4 separate regions of the Homo sapiens genome follow, and all the other regions are linked to region 3. Evidence: promoter capture Hi-C in 16 types of primary human blood cells and fetal thymus (Javierre and others, 2016). All regions are on one chromosome and are shown on one strand. The core of a region is centred on a gene start or on the middle of the fragment in contact, and the rest is flanking DNA. Distances in the headings are between cores, read along the strand shown. Region 1 overlaps TM2D3 (TM2 domain containing 3). Region 2 overlaps LRRC28 (leucine rich repeat containing 28). Region 3 holds the start of ASB7 (ankyrin repeat and SOCS box containing 7). Region 4 overlaps TARS3 (threonyl-tRNA synthetase 3).

What was found. Contacts are between HindIII fragments. The CHiCAGO score rates a contact against its expected background, and 5 or more counts as called.
Region 1: a fragment that was not itself captured here is called in contact with the fragment with the promoter of ASB7 in region 3 in 3 of 17 cell types (erythroblasts, fetal thymus and naive B cells); the score reaches 7.3 in erythroblasts.
Region 2: a fragment that was not itself captured here is called in contact with the fragment with the promoter of ASB7 in region 3 in 2 of 17 cell types (fetal thymus and total B cells); the score reaches 6.1 in fetal thymus.
Region 4: a contact is called between a fragment that was not itself captured here and the fragment with the promoter of ASB7 in region 3, in 2 of 17 cell types (total B cells and fetal thymus). The highest score is 7.0, in total B cells.

The regions. Positions count from the first base shown.
Region 1 is chr15:101,649,075-101,652,297 of GRCh38, reverse strand. It overlaps TM2D3 (TM2 domain containing 3), which reads left to right. Exons shown (of 6, transcript NM_078474.3): 1 at 1-27; 2 at 525-602; 3 at 2,137-2,294. Among named protein-coding and RNA genes, the nearest start is that of TM2D3, 1.7 kb to the left of the region's middle. RefSeq lists a silencer at 1-329. The HindIII fragment of the contact is 1,735 bases long and covers 383-2,117 here.
Region 2 is chr15:99,266,623-99,269,873 of GRCh38, reverse strand. The region is part of intron 2 of LRRC28 (leucine rich repeat containing 28); the gene reads right to left. Among named protein-coding and RNA genes, the nearest start is that of LRRC28, 17 kb to the right of the region's middle. The HindIII fragment of the contact is 176 bases long and covers 1,914-2,089 here.
Region 3 is chr15:100,601,186-100,604,335 of GRCh38, reverse strand. It overlaps ASB7 (ankyrin repeat and SOCS box containing 7), which reads right to left and starts at 1,747. Exons shown (of 6, transcript NM_198243.3): 1 at 1,290-1,747; 2 at 1,023-1,121. LINS1 (lines homolog 1) reads left to right here and starts at 2,152. Exons shown (of 7, transcript NM_001040616.3): 1 at 2,152-2,215. RefSeq lists silencers at 965-1,014, 1,465-1,724 and an enhancer at 1,895-2,234. The HindIII fragment of the contact is 6,685 bases long and covers 1-3,150 here.
Region 4 is chr15:101,719,663-101,722,837 of GRCh38, reverse strand. It overlaps TARS3 (threonyl-tRNA synthetase 3), which reads left to right. Exons shown (of 19, transcript NM_152334.3): 3 at 1,516-1,712. Among named protein-coding and RNA genes, the nearest start is that of TARS3, 3.2 kb to the left of the region's middle. The HindIII fragment of the contact is 156 bases long and covers 1,401-1,556 here.

The DNA of each region.
Region 1 (3,223 bases), core at 1-2,500, 1.0 Mb before region 3:
CGCAGTTCTGCATTCTGTCGGGCGGTGGTGAGTCAAAGGCTGGGTTCAGCGCCGGGTGGGGCTGAGTGGCAGCAGGGCCCCGGGAGCTGCGAGGAGGCCGGGCCCACGGGCGGACGCTGACGCGGGGAGGAGGCCGAGTGCCGGGCTCCGGGCCGCTTGTCGCTGCATCTGGAGTCTGGCGCCCTGGCCGCCCGGCCCGAGGCCGCCCCTCCGCTCCGGCGACACCGAGCCCGCCATCGCGGCTGCGGAGCCCTGGCACGGAGATGGAGCGCTTGGGGGCTGGGCCGGGGAGGCGGAACTGGAGCGCGATGTCATCCTTCGGTCCCTCGTTGCCGGCTGACCTGAACTGATGTCTACTCTGTTGACGTTTCGTCCCTAAGCTTTGTGTTTTCTGGCTGACCAGCCGTGAGGTTTTCATGAGCAGCTTATTGGCCTGGTGTAGACCCGCCGTGTTAACCACACAAAATAAGGTTTTCTTGTCCCGGGATAACGTGTTTCTCTAATTGTACGATCCTTAAATTTAGAGCAATCGCAGGCGCTGGCTCAGTCAATAAAGGATCCGGGCCCAACACGCACATTCACAGTAGTTCCCAGGGCAGCAGGTACTAGACGTTTTCTATTCTAGTAAATACATGTAGTTATCTCTAGTAGTTTCTCTTTGTTTTTATAAAAATTCCCTTTAGTATACGAAGTCACTTTCCATTTTTGAATATTTATTGTATTTTAGATTATGTGAATTAAGGGTAGATACACAGCCATTTTCAGTAGATAGTCTTCGTATTTATACCTTTTGACGTTTCTGCCTCCTCTCTTTTTCCAATCCCACGCTCATTTGTCACCTTATTTCTATTATTTTTCCACTTCATCCATCAAAATAACCTTCAGTCCGTGCTTCTTTCCCTTCAGCAAATTTCCTCTACTGCTAAAACCCTGTTCCTGATGTTGGAATATTAAAGGCTCCCTCAGGACTGTGGAAATGGAAGGATTACAGCGGGACTGATGGAGACTTGAAATCTAGATCTGGTTTTGCTACTGGGATCTTGAACAAATTATTTATCCTCTTTGGACCTTGGTCCTCATCTTTAAAGCGGTGGGGTTGGTCTGACGACCTAAAGTCATTTCTGCTTTGTGATTCTAAGTGTCCACCTTCCAGCCACATAGTCACGGGATCAAAAAGAGTATTTTGTAGAATTGTTCCTTAATACAGTGAGTAAAGTAGGACCAGTTTTAAACAAGCATTAGTGTGTTTTGCTAGGTGGAGGCTCTGACTATAATTTCATCACTTTAAAGTGACATTACTTCAGTGAATTGAAACTGGCAGAGATATTTTACTGATTCTTATTTGGATGTAAAAAACAGCAGTGCACTTGAATTTTAAACTCAGATTACTTTTTAGAGAAAGCACAAGAGTTCTTAACTCTTGCAGGCTTTTGAAAGCCCTTCTTTTCAGGAATACTTGCAATTTTGATCCTTTCAGTTGGTAAAAATACATTGCACACTCATTAGGTTGGTTGGAAATAAGTTGCAGCTTACTGAAGATGTTATTAAAGTAGAGAACTGTTTTGAACTTTGGTAGCGTAAAACTGTAAATATTATATTAGCAAATGTGGCTTATCGAAGTACCAGTGTGAAATAATGACATTTTAAAGTTGATGCCCTGAGGATGTCAGTGGCTTCATTTCTGAATTAGTGAATTCAGATGAAAAGAACACGGGATTGGAAATGGAGAGATTTGGGTTCTAGTTCCAGTTTTGCCACAGACTTCCTCTGTGATTTTGCAAAACCCTACTGTAAGTTTTTTTTCAACTTACAAAATGATAGTCTTTTTTTTAAGCCCTTAATGTATACCCAGAATTTTCTATACATTATTTGTATATGAGCACCTTTAGTTTTCACGGCCACGTGGGAGGCAGGAATGAAGTAATGTTTTACAAGTGTGGTGCTCACCAGGTCCCACAGCTGGCCGTGGGCAGAATTCTGCTTTAATTGCAGGTGTCTCTGACTCCAGTCCCATGCTTCTTCCCTTCCAGTGCAGTGTCTACTTGCTAATGATCACGTCTCTTAACCTTAGAAGATTGTTCTCTGTTATTCGAATCAGTATTATAGGAGAATAAGCTTCTCTCTTGCCTCTCACAGAAAGTACTGAAATCCCACCTTATGTGATGAAGTGTCCGAGCAATGGTTTGTGTAGCAGGCTTCCTGCAGACTGTATAGACTGCACAACAAATTTCTCCTGTACCTATGGGAAGCCTGTCACTTTTGACTGTGCAGTGAAACCATCTGTTACCTGTGTTGTAAGTACTGCAGCTTACTTATTCTAAATAAATTCATTGTAAACTTTAAGTTAGAAGAACAATTCAGACTTGATTATTGGGAAGAAATTCTGAAGAATTTTTATATTCTTTTATGATTTCCCTTTTGAGTATGTAAGCAGAAATAAATTAAAAAACCCAATAGACCTTTCCATATCAGCTCACTACTGTTTTAGTTATAATGATAACTGTCAAGCCAGTTGATGTCTGCTGGAAATGCACTTGACAGAAATGTTGCTTTGTAGGACTGGAGAAGATCTCAGTCTACTAGCATATCTGAAGCAAGTCTAATTCGTTCAGATGGATTCTGTGTTCTCAATAGTGACAGCTAGTGTACAGAGGGGGTGGCAGTGTCTTTCTGCCATAGATGAGCTTTTGAAGGGCCAGTGCTTATCTGTGGTGAGAAGATGGATTCAGTAAATGCCGGAATGCCTGGTAGCTCTCTAGAACAAAATTAAGTGGAACGCCTGTCTTATCCAGAATAAATTCCAGATAGTCCAAAGATGTAATGTGAAAAATGAAACCCTGAAGTACCACAGAAAACACCAGATAGTTGCTGTTATAATCCCAAAATGGAGAATATTTTTCTAAGTATGAAATAAAGTTTAGAAGCCATAAAATAAAGAATTGATACATTTGACTCCTAAAAATTGGAGATTTCTGCATGACCTAAAAAAAAAAGCATAAAGGCAAAAGACATGGCAAACTAGGAAAAAGCGTTTCTAGAATATGTGACAAATAATACAGTAATATCAGTAATATATAAACACTTCCTAAAACCCACACGGAAAAGATGACAGTCTTGTAGAAAAACAGTGTTAGGACATGAGCAGATGGTTCATAGGAAAGGAAATACAAATAGATATATAACATGAAAAACATATAAGTTTTCTCATAGTATTTAATTAATA
Region 2 (3,251 bases), core at 752-3,251, 1.3 Mb after region 3:
CATAATAATTACTCATTTTCCTTTGTTTCTCTCTCTGCCATGATGGAAACATTATCTGTGTTGTCCAATATGGCAGACACTAGCCACATGTGGCTATGAAGCACTTAAAATGTGGCTATGTGATGGAGGAACTGAATTTTTAATATTATTTTACTTTAATTTAAATGTTAAGGCCAGGCATGGTAGCTCACACCTGTAATCCTAACACTTTGGGAGGCTGAGGGAGGTGGATTACCTGAGGTCAGGAATTCAAGACCAGCCCGGCCAACATGGTGAAACCCGTCTCTACTAAAAACACAAAAATTAGCTGGGCGTGATGGCGGGTGCCTGTAATCCCAGCTACTCGGGAGGATGAGGCAGGAGAATCACTTGAACCTGAGAGGCAGAGGTTGCAGTAAGCTGAGTTCGTGCCACTGCACTCCAGCCTGGGTGAAAACTCTGTCTCCAAAAAAAAAAAAAGTTAACAGCACATGTGGCTGGTAAAGTGTGCAGAATTCATACCTTCATATTCACTACTGATTTTTCACTTAAACTCAGCTCTTTCAAATGTAAAACATGAAGAATAACTACTTAACTGTAAGAATGATAAATGTTTTAGATTATTTTTCTTAGAAATAAATGAAAGTATTTGCTTAGCATTTGTAGAAATTAAAATTGTCATCTTAAGAAATGTAAATGAAAATATTTTAAGTATCTTCAAATCTACAAATGTTTTCTGGCAAAAAATGTAAAACAAACATCAAGACTGATATTTTTAACTTAGCAAAAACTTACAGAATGAGCTCAAAATAAAAAAAACTATACATCCAGTACATTTACAAAAATACAATGTTTCTGAATTTGATAGAAATTTGATTGCCAAGAAAAGATTTTTCAAAAGAAAAAACAGGCATTAAAAATTGCTGAAATGCCTCTTGAAGTGTTTATCTTAATATTTGTTAAAACTTTAAGTTATGTAAATGTCGGAAACAAGGGTTGGAGGTTACAAGCATCAAGTGTCTTCTCCAGCTTTTTATTTTTAAAAAAACCTATTTAATAAACATGCCATAAGTATGATTTTATAAATGCAATTTTCAAAGCAATATAAAAATACACACAAAAATAGAATACCAAACACATTCCCATTAAGCCAGATCAATGATTTAAGATTACACCTAGCTTGAACAATTCTGTAAGTTTATGACATAACTGTTTGGTTTTGCGGGGGTGGGGTGGGGAGCATGTTCCAAGATCCGTGTACAAGTGCCTTACTTACATAACGTATGTATTTGTTGACTGATTCGATGGGACTAACAGTTAGGCACTGGTGTCTCACTTCCAGTACACAGGTGCCTCATTAAAGTGAATGCCTGAAAAATGAATTTAAACTTGTGGAAACATACATACACCAATGGTTTTGAGTCTTTTGCTTGCAAATAACACCCTTCGAGTACACAAGATAATGGTCTGTTCTAAGAAAAGACCCCTAGCCCTGCCACCTCTTTCTAAACTGTCCCCCTCCTAACTCCCTAGGCAGAAACTACAAATTACAGGGTATATGCTAAGTCAGGTTCCCTACATTTCATTTAAAAAGCAAAGAATGATACATGTTTAAAAATATTTCTATTAAGCTAGACTTTTATTCACAGGAAAACTCAGACACAGACTTTACAAAAATTAACTGGGAAAATTCACTTAACATGCAGCACTTCATTTCTCCACAGTCGATAAACGTGGTTAAATTTTAACGACATGGTGGTGCTAGGCTAGGAAGAGGTTATCAATAAATATCTACAGAATTAAAATGAAGCAAAACTAACTGGACCACAAATTAGGAGACCTTATTTTTGCACTGAAAAGTGACTTTAGAACCAGCCATTATCCTCTTCTTAGTTTCCTCAAAAAGAAAAATTGTCTAAATTATAAATAAAGCTTCTAGCTTTAAAATCCTATGACTCCATAAATAGAGTTAAGTTATGGAACAGACGTTCATTTTCCTGAAAAATGAAAGTCATTATGACATGTGAGAGGCTTGAGTTTCTTAATTATTTGACAAGGAATCACCGTTTCACATTACTGACAAGGAATCAGTAACAATGACAGAAAAGCTTCTAAATCTGAAAATTCAACAGGAAAAGAAGCTGTTGTAACAAAACTTAATTTTCAGGCACATGTGTATTATGAAGACAGGATAAATGTGCAATGGCTGTTTTCCAGAACTGTACCACATTTACTTACAAACACTAAAACACTAACGGACCATTAGAATGCTTTACTATTTGATATACTCACATATTTCCACATAGTCAATTTAAGAAACAGAGATGCTTTTATACAGAGCTAGCTCAAGAACAGTGCAATCATGGCGATTATGGAGGCCCTGCACCCTAGCAGCAGTTCAAGCTGCAAGGATCCAACAGACTGGAGAAAAACAAGAAGTCCTTGCTCTGGAATTCAAAATGAACCAAACTAATAACAAAACTTAATTCCCGCTCCCGGTTTCTCCTACCGCACTTGGCTGTATGATGCTCTTTTAGGCCATCTCCTTAACTTACTGTTTTTCCCCTCAGGGTGTTCTGATCCTTATTTGATCCAGATCCTACTACTACCAAATTCAAGGAGGGGGTGGCGGATATAGTTGTGTGACTTTCCTAGCCATCAACCTCTCTCACCCTCACCTAACCACCGGCTAAGAGAGTCATCTATGTCAATATGGCATAAACATATGCATCGCTGTAAATCAAAATATTTAGACTAGCTGATTAGAAAGCTTGATAAAAACTTAGTGGCACTATATTCTAACCATCTTATTTTAACTGACTCCAAATTATAAAAATAAATATTTACTGAAAGTAATATAAACCAAACTTACTAGTAGAGTTTTCCCTTGTCCTATAAACACTTAAGTAAGGCTGTTTCTTTCAGCCTCCACCCCTACCCTCATACTCTCCATCCATCTCCAACTTTAATCATTATTCAGTTTGATGTACATTTTATGACTTAGTTTATTTGTCTATAAAATAAGGATCATAATAGTGCCTACATCACAGGATTGTCCTGAGGATTAAATAATACATGTCATTTGCGTAAAACTGTTTGAGCACTTGGTAAAGACTCAAACAGTGCTAGCTGCTATCATATTTTAACAAATCCATTATTGATGAATATCGAGGTTTTAACAATTTTTCATCATATTCAATTTTGTGATAAACACTCTTGTTCACCAGACTTTTCTATTGGGTAGATTCTTGCAAGTGAAAATGCCGATTCAA
Region 3 (3,150 bases), core at 498-2,997:
TTGTATAATTTCCATGCTTATATCCCCCCTTTAGGAATTACACTAATGTCCTAAGTTTACTTTCAGAGCATTTTCAGAAGCAGCAACAAAATATGGCAGCAGAAATGTGATCACATGAATTAGATGCTTAAATTTCAATCCAGCAAACTCTACGTAAAAGTTTTAAAATGAGAAATCTTTTTTATAGAGTGCTAAAATTAAGACCCAGATATGTAAACACACCAAAAGGTTCCTTTGTTTTTAAATTCCTGAGTCAAACGATTAATAAGATATTGTGCAAATTTTTAAAAGTTCTCCTAGAAAATCTGAGGTGTAAGAAACATTGTATCTTTATAAGTTTCAAAGCCCATCCACATTTGTCACACACAAACACACAGAAAGCCCAAAGAGTTAATTATGCCTAAGTGCTTCAGGGTAATAATGTTGTCTTCATACCATTCACACTCTTAAGGTACACAGGTTGGCTTTCTAGTAGGAAATAAAATCAAACTATTTTCTGAAACTCATAAATCTCAGGCCAATAATTTACCTTTCTCTACCAAATCGTTGTCAGTTAGATAACTCAAAAGATTTTTCTGATGCAGGTAGAAGAAAGGTGATAGGAAAGAGTAAGGGGGAAAACAGTAAATTGTGGTTTAATTAAAAAGGAAAGTCATTCAGAATTAACAAGCAATTAACAAGGAATTGAGGAATTCCTATGAGAGTAAGGAAGGGAGGGTAGCTACAAAAAGGTCTCAAAGCCTCAGAGCAGAGTAAATGGCACAGTGTACCAAAAGATAATGAAAAACACAGAAACACACTGTACAGAAAGAAAGTGGGAAAATACTGTCCTGGGTAGAGAAGTTATAAAATGTTAAGTATCAGGCACGGGTAATGTTTTTGTTTTTCCTGGGAAACTGGGGGTGGGGGTGGGGGGGGTAGGAAAGGTTGCATTCCCAGGCAACCACCCTGAAAATAAACCACTGCTTAATGAGGTAGGGGCCAGGAATAAACAACGGGGGAGGGGAGGGCTGGCTCATTACCTTTACAGACGATGCTGGTCAGAGGCACTGTGCCTTCTGCTTCTCTGATAGGTGGGCAGACCTCTTCCTGCTTTCGCGTCTTCTTCAGCCAGCTCAAACCTAGAAAAACAGAAACCAGTGAGTGGTGTAGTGTCTCAGAGGTGGGGAGGGGGGAGCTCAGGAAAGGGGCTGGAGAGTGGCAAGGGCAGGCAAGAAAAAGCAGAGATTTTCCTCCCTCCTACCCTCCCAGCCAGCACTCTTCCCCTCGGGGGAAGTAAAGGACTTTACCTGTCTCCTCAGCTGCTGCTTCTCTTCCTCCTTTCAGCCTCCTCTACACTCACCAACTTCTCCATTGAAGAAATACCCCAGGCAGGGCCGGACCCTGGTGTTCCTGATCCTCCTCGGTGCCTCACGGCCCCAGCCCGGCGAACATCCGAACAGCCGAGAAGGCAGGAGGTGGCGATCCCGGCCGCCGGGCAGCCTTGGGGCAGAGGTGCAGGGAGGCAGGGAGGAAGTCCTGGCTCGGGTGGGGGGGCAGTCCCGGTCCAGGGCTCGGAGCAGGGGGCTGCCGCGCTCCGGGCCGGAGGCTTCCAGCTACGGAGGGACCCAGGAGGTCTCGGGACGGCGAGGTCCCAGGTCATACGGGGCCCGAAGTGCCAGCCGTGGGGTCTCCGGACAGGGGGCTTTCGGGATGCACTTTGCACTGGGCCACCCCCGCCCCCTCCCTTCAGCACTTTGGGGTCACTGGGATGGGACCAAGCCTTCAACAACCAATCAGCGCCCGCAGTGGAGCCTGAGCCTGGAGCCGTAAACCAGGTCCGGGATGGGTGGGGGTGGAGGGAGTAGGGACGACTTGGTTGGTTGGTTGCTTCCTTCTCTCCTCCTTACCCCCGGCAGCCCCCACCCTCTGCCTGCCGTAAAGTTGCCTTTGCATTCGCGACAGTTAAGGGAGGCGTGCCGAACGGGGCAGAGATTCGTCTCCGATTGGTCTCACTCACTTCCCCTTACAGCTTCCCCGTGGTGGCTTCCGAGGCTCCGCCCCTGGCGGAGGGACTCAAAGCCGTTGCTAAGAGACACTATTCGCCGAAGGCGGTCTCTGCGCATGCGGGAGGAGGTGCCAGCTTGTACTTTCTGTGAACTACGGTGGCCCAGAGCGGGCATTTGTGTTCCCTCAAATGGCGGTGTGAAGAGAGTTCGCCTGAGCCAGATCCCAGGCAGGTAACCGGGACCGGCCGCCGTGCTGGCAGCAGGGGAGGCACGAGTGCGGCCAAATGAGAGCCTGGTTCAGGGCTTAAGGTTGGGAGGGCGGCAGGCTCCAGGAAGCGAGTAGAGGGGTGCCTTGTTTCTCCGCCCCTGTTCAGCGCTTGTCAGACGCAAGTGCCCGGTCTTGGCGCGGCTGTCGGTCCTTGAGACCCCGTTAGCTTCCAGGCTGGCAATGCCTCGCCTGAAGTGGGAGAACGGACTCTCTTTGGGATAGCGATGACGATCCAAGGACCTTCCTGAAAGGATAGCAACGTTGGCGGGTTCCTGTGAATGAATGGAGAGGGGTCGTGGGGAAAACGCGAGATAGACTGATCAAGACACGTTTGTTAAGCACTTTATTCATTAGCAAGTGTTTACTGGCCACTGTTCTAGTCCCTGGGGAGACAACAGTGAACAAGATAGTGATTTCGGGGAAACAAACACAAAATTATCAGATAGGGATGGGTTATATGAGGAAAATCAAGCAGAATGGTGGAATCGATTTTGACCAGGACGTGATGGGCTGTATTAGATAGGTAGTGCTATGGTGTGAATATCTGTCCCCTTCAAAACTCATGTTGAAATTTAATCCCCAATGTGGCAGTACTGAGAGGTAGAGTCTTTAAGAGGTGGTTGGACCGTGAGGGTTCTGTCTTCACGAGTGGATTGATCTATTCATGGATTAATGGGTTATCACGGAGGTAGAACTGGTGGCTTTTTAAGGAGAGACTTGACAACTCGTGAGCCTGCTCAGCCCCCTGGCCACGTGATACTTTGCGGTGCTGTCTCGTGGTCCGTCAGTCTTAGACTTCCCAGCCTCCAAAACTAGACAATAAATTACTTTTCTTTATAAATTACCGAGTTTTAGGAATTATTTTATAAGCAACAGGAAACGGACTAAGACAGA
Region 4 (3,175 bases), core at 229-2,728, 1.1 Mb before region 3:
GGTTTTTTTTTGTTTTTTGAAGGCGGAGGTTTGCTCTTGTTGCCCAGGCTAGAGTGCAATGGCATGATCTCGGTTACTGCAGCCTCCACCTCCCAGGTTCAAGCGATTCTCCTGCCTCAGCCTCCTGAGTAGCTGGGACTACAGGTGCATGCCACCAAGCCCGGCTAATTTTTTTTTTTTTTTTTTTTTTTTTTTAGTAGAGATGGGGTTTCACCGTGTTAGCCAGGAGGATCTCGATCTCCTGACCTCATGATCCGCCCACCTTGGCTTCCCAAAGTGCTGGGATTACAGGCGTGAGCCACCGCCCCCGGTCTTTTTTTTTTTTTTGTATTCGAGAAACTAGCTACTTTGCTTTTGTATATAAAGCATTAAAACAATCAGTAAGTATTTATCTAGCATCAACATTTGGTAGGAGTGAAGAAGGAATACCTAGGCCCAAAGAAGTTAGTCTGGTTGAGGAATTCAGGCAGACTCAGGACAAACAACTAGAGAACAGAGTACGATGGTATACAAGTAAGTGCTGTAATGTGTGACTCTGTACACGTTCTGTAAACAGTAGAAAAGGGAGGTGTCATGGGGGCTGGGCGTGGGGCTGTCTCAAAGGAAAAAAAAAAAAAAAAGGGAGATGCCAGCGGGTAAAATAGGTAGAGGAGGCAGGCTTTGAGGTGGACCTTTAGAGCTAAGGAGAAGTTAGATAGGCAGAGAGGAGCCTTTTGGAGGTGGGAAGTACACATGCTCTTAGTCTTACAGTTGGGTTATGTCCCAATAAAACCAATGTGAGTTAAAAATGTATTTAATACACGTAAGCTAGTGATCATCGTAGTTTAGCCTAGCCTACATTAAAAGTGCTCAGAACACTTAGATTAGCTTACAGTTGGGCAAAATCCTCTAACATAAAGCCTATTTTATTATGAAGTGTTGAATATCTCATGTAATTTATTGAATACTGTACTGAGTGAAAAACACAATGGTTGTATGGATACTCAAAGTACAGTTTCTACTGAATGCATATGACTTTCACATCACTAAAGTTGAAAAATTGCGGCTGGATACGGTGACTCACGCCTGTAATCCCAGCATTTTGGGAGGCCAAGGCAGGTAAATCATTTGAGGTCAGGAGTTCGAGACCAGCCTGGCCAACATGGCGAAACCCCATCTCTACTACAAATACAAAAATTAGTCTGGCAGGGTGGTGCGTGCCTGTAATCCCAGCTACTCGGGTGGCCGAGGCAGGAAAATCGCTTGAACCTAGGAGACAGAGGCTGCAGTGAGCTGATTTCGTGCCCCTGCACTCCAGCCTGGGCGACAAAGCAAGACTCCATCTCAAAACAACAGCAACAACAACAACAAACCAAAAAACAACAACAACAACAAAATCGTAATTCAAACCATGGTAAGCTTGGGACCATCTGTAGAACTGAGAAGGCAGTAAGGGGGTGAGCCTGATTCAGAGCTGAGCAGCTGGAAAACAGTAGGCTGTATATATTAATCTCATTATGTTCTAATAATTTCCAGGTGAAGCATCAACCAATTTTCATAAAAGAAAGATTGAAGCTTTTTGAAATACTGAAGAAAGACCATCAGCTCTTACTTGCCATTTATGGAAAAAAGGGGGATACAAGCAACATCATCACAGTAAGAGTGGCTGATGGGCAAACAGTGCAAGGGGAAGTCTGGAAAACAACGCCTTACCAAGTGGCTGCTGAAATTAGGTAAACCGCAGTGTGGAAAAGATATTCAATCTTAAGTAATTATACTGAAGCCTGGTGAAAATGTTTTCTTAGGGACCGCTAATATATTACTCCATTCTCACGATACTAAAAGGACATGTCTGAGACTGGGTTATTTATAAAGGAAGAAGATTTAATTGACTCACAGTTCCGCAGGGCTGGGGAGGCTTCAGGAAACTTACAGTCGTGGCAGAAGGGGAAGCAAGCATGTCCTTCTTCACATGGCAGCGGCAAGGAGAAGTGCAGAGCAAAGTGGGGGGAAAACCCCTTATAAAACCATCAGATCTCATGAGAATGCACTCACTATCAAAGAACAGCATGGAGGTAACAGCCCCTGTGATTCAGTTACCTCCCACTGGGTCCCTTCCACAAAACGTGGGGATTATGGGAACTAGAGTTCAAGATGAGGTTTGGATGGGCACACAGCCAAACCATATCAGCTAATTTTTTTTTTATTCAGTTGAATAAATTAAATGTATTTAATTTTTTTCCTCTGGCTTCTCCAAGGGCCATGTAAATAAGTAGTTGAATATCAGAACACAATCATTTCCTGTTCTAATAAAAATATATAGGAGAGAAAAAAATCTGTAATTCTTGATAGGCCATTTTACACTGACTTTATTCGTCAATCAAGTAATTTCCATGAGTTTTTACAGGTCTTTTAAGTATAGATTGAAGATAAATGTTTTAGAGCTATTATCAGTCTTGGAAAAGTGCTTTGACTTTTCTAGAAATTAGATACATTAGTGAACTTATATTGTTTTGACTCATGTTAATTCTTAGCATTAAATACAATTGTATAGAAGCTATTGTATAAATACAATTATATAGCTTCTATACAATTGTATTAATGCCATGTAAATAAATGTTCATCATTTAAAAAGCAAACTGTTTCAACAACTGAAATTCTCAGATTTTCTTTGAAAACTATGGCTAAGATTGTATTTCTGATTCATCCTATTATATTGTTAAATGCTCTCCCAGCCTGTTTTCATGTTTTCCAGGAGGAATGATGTGCTAGGAGAAAACAGGTTTTGAGGCAAGAATAAGTTTGTTTTCTCATGGAGAGTCAGGTTGCATGTTAAATGTGTTGGGTCAGTATTTCTCAAAGTGTAGTCCCCAGACCAGCAGCATGGGCATCACCTGGAAACTTGTTAGAAAAGCAAATTTGGGGATCCCACCTCAAACCCCCTGAATTGATCAGCCATCAGTGTTTTTATGAGCTCTCCAGGGGCTTCTAATGCAAGCTAACCGTCTAGAAGTGACCAGTCAAGCCTAGTGGACATCTCTGGTCCATGCAGTTATTTATGGACCCAGCTTCCTCCCATCTTGTTGATCTGCTGTCTCCTAGGTAGGGTTTCTTTGTGTCTAGCGGTGGAAGCTGGGTCCTTGCATGGGCCTGCCTGCAGTCAGGAGGAAGAGAAGCTGCAGAGCAATGATGCTTT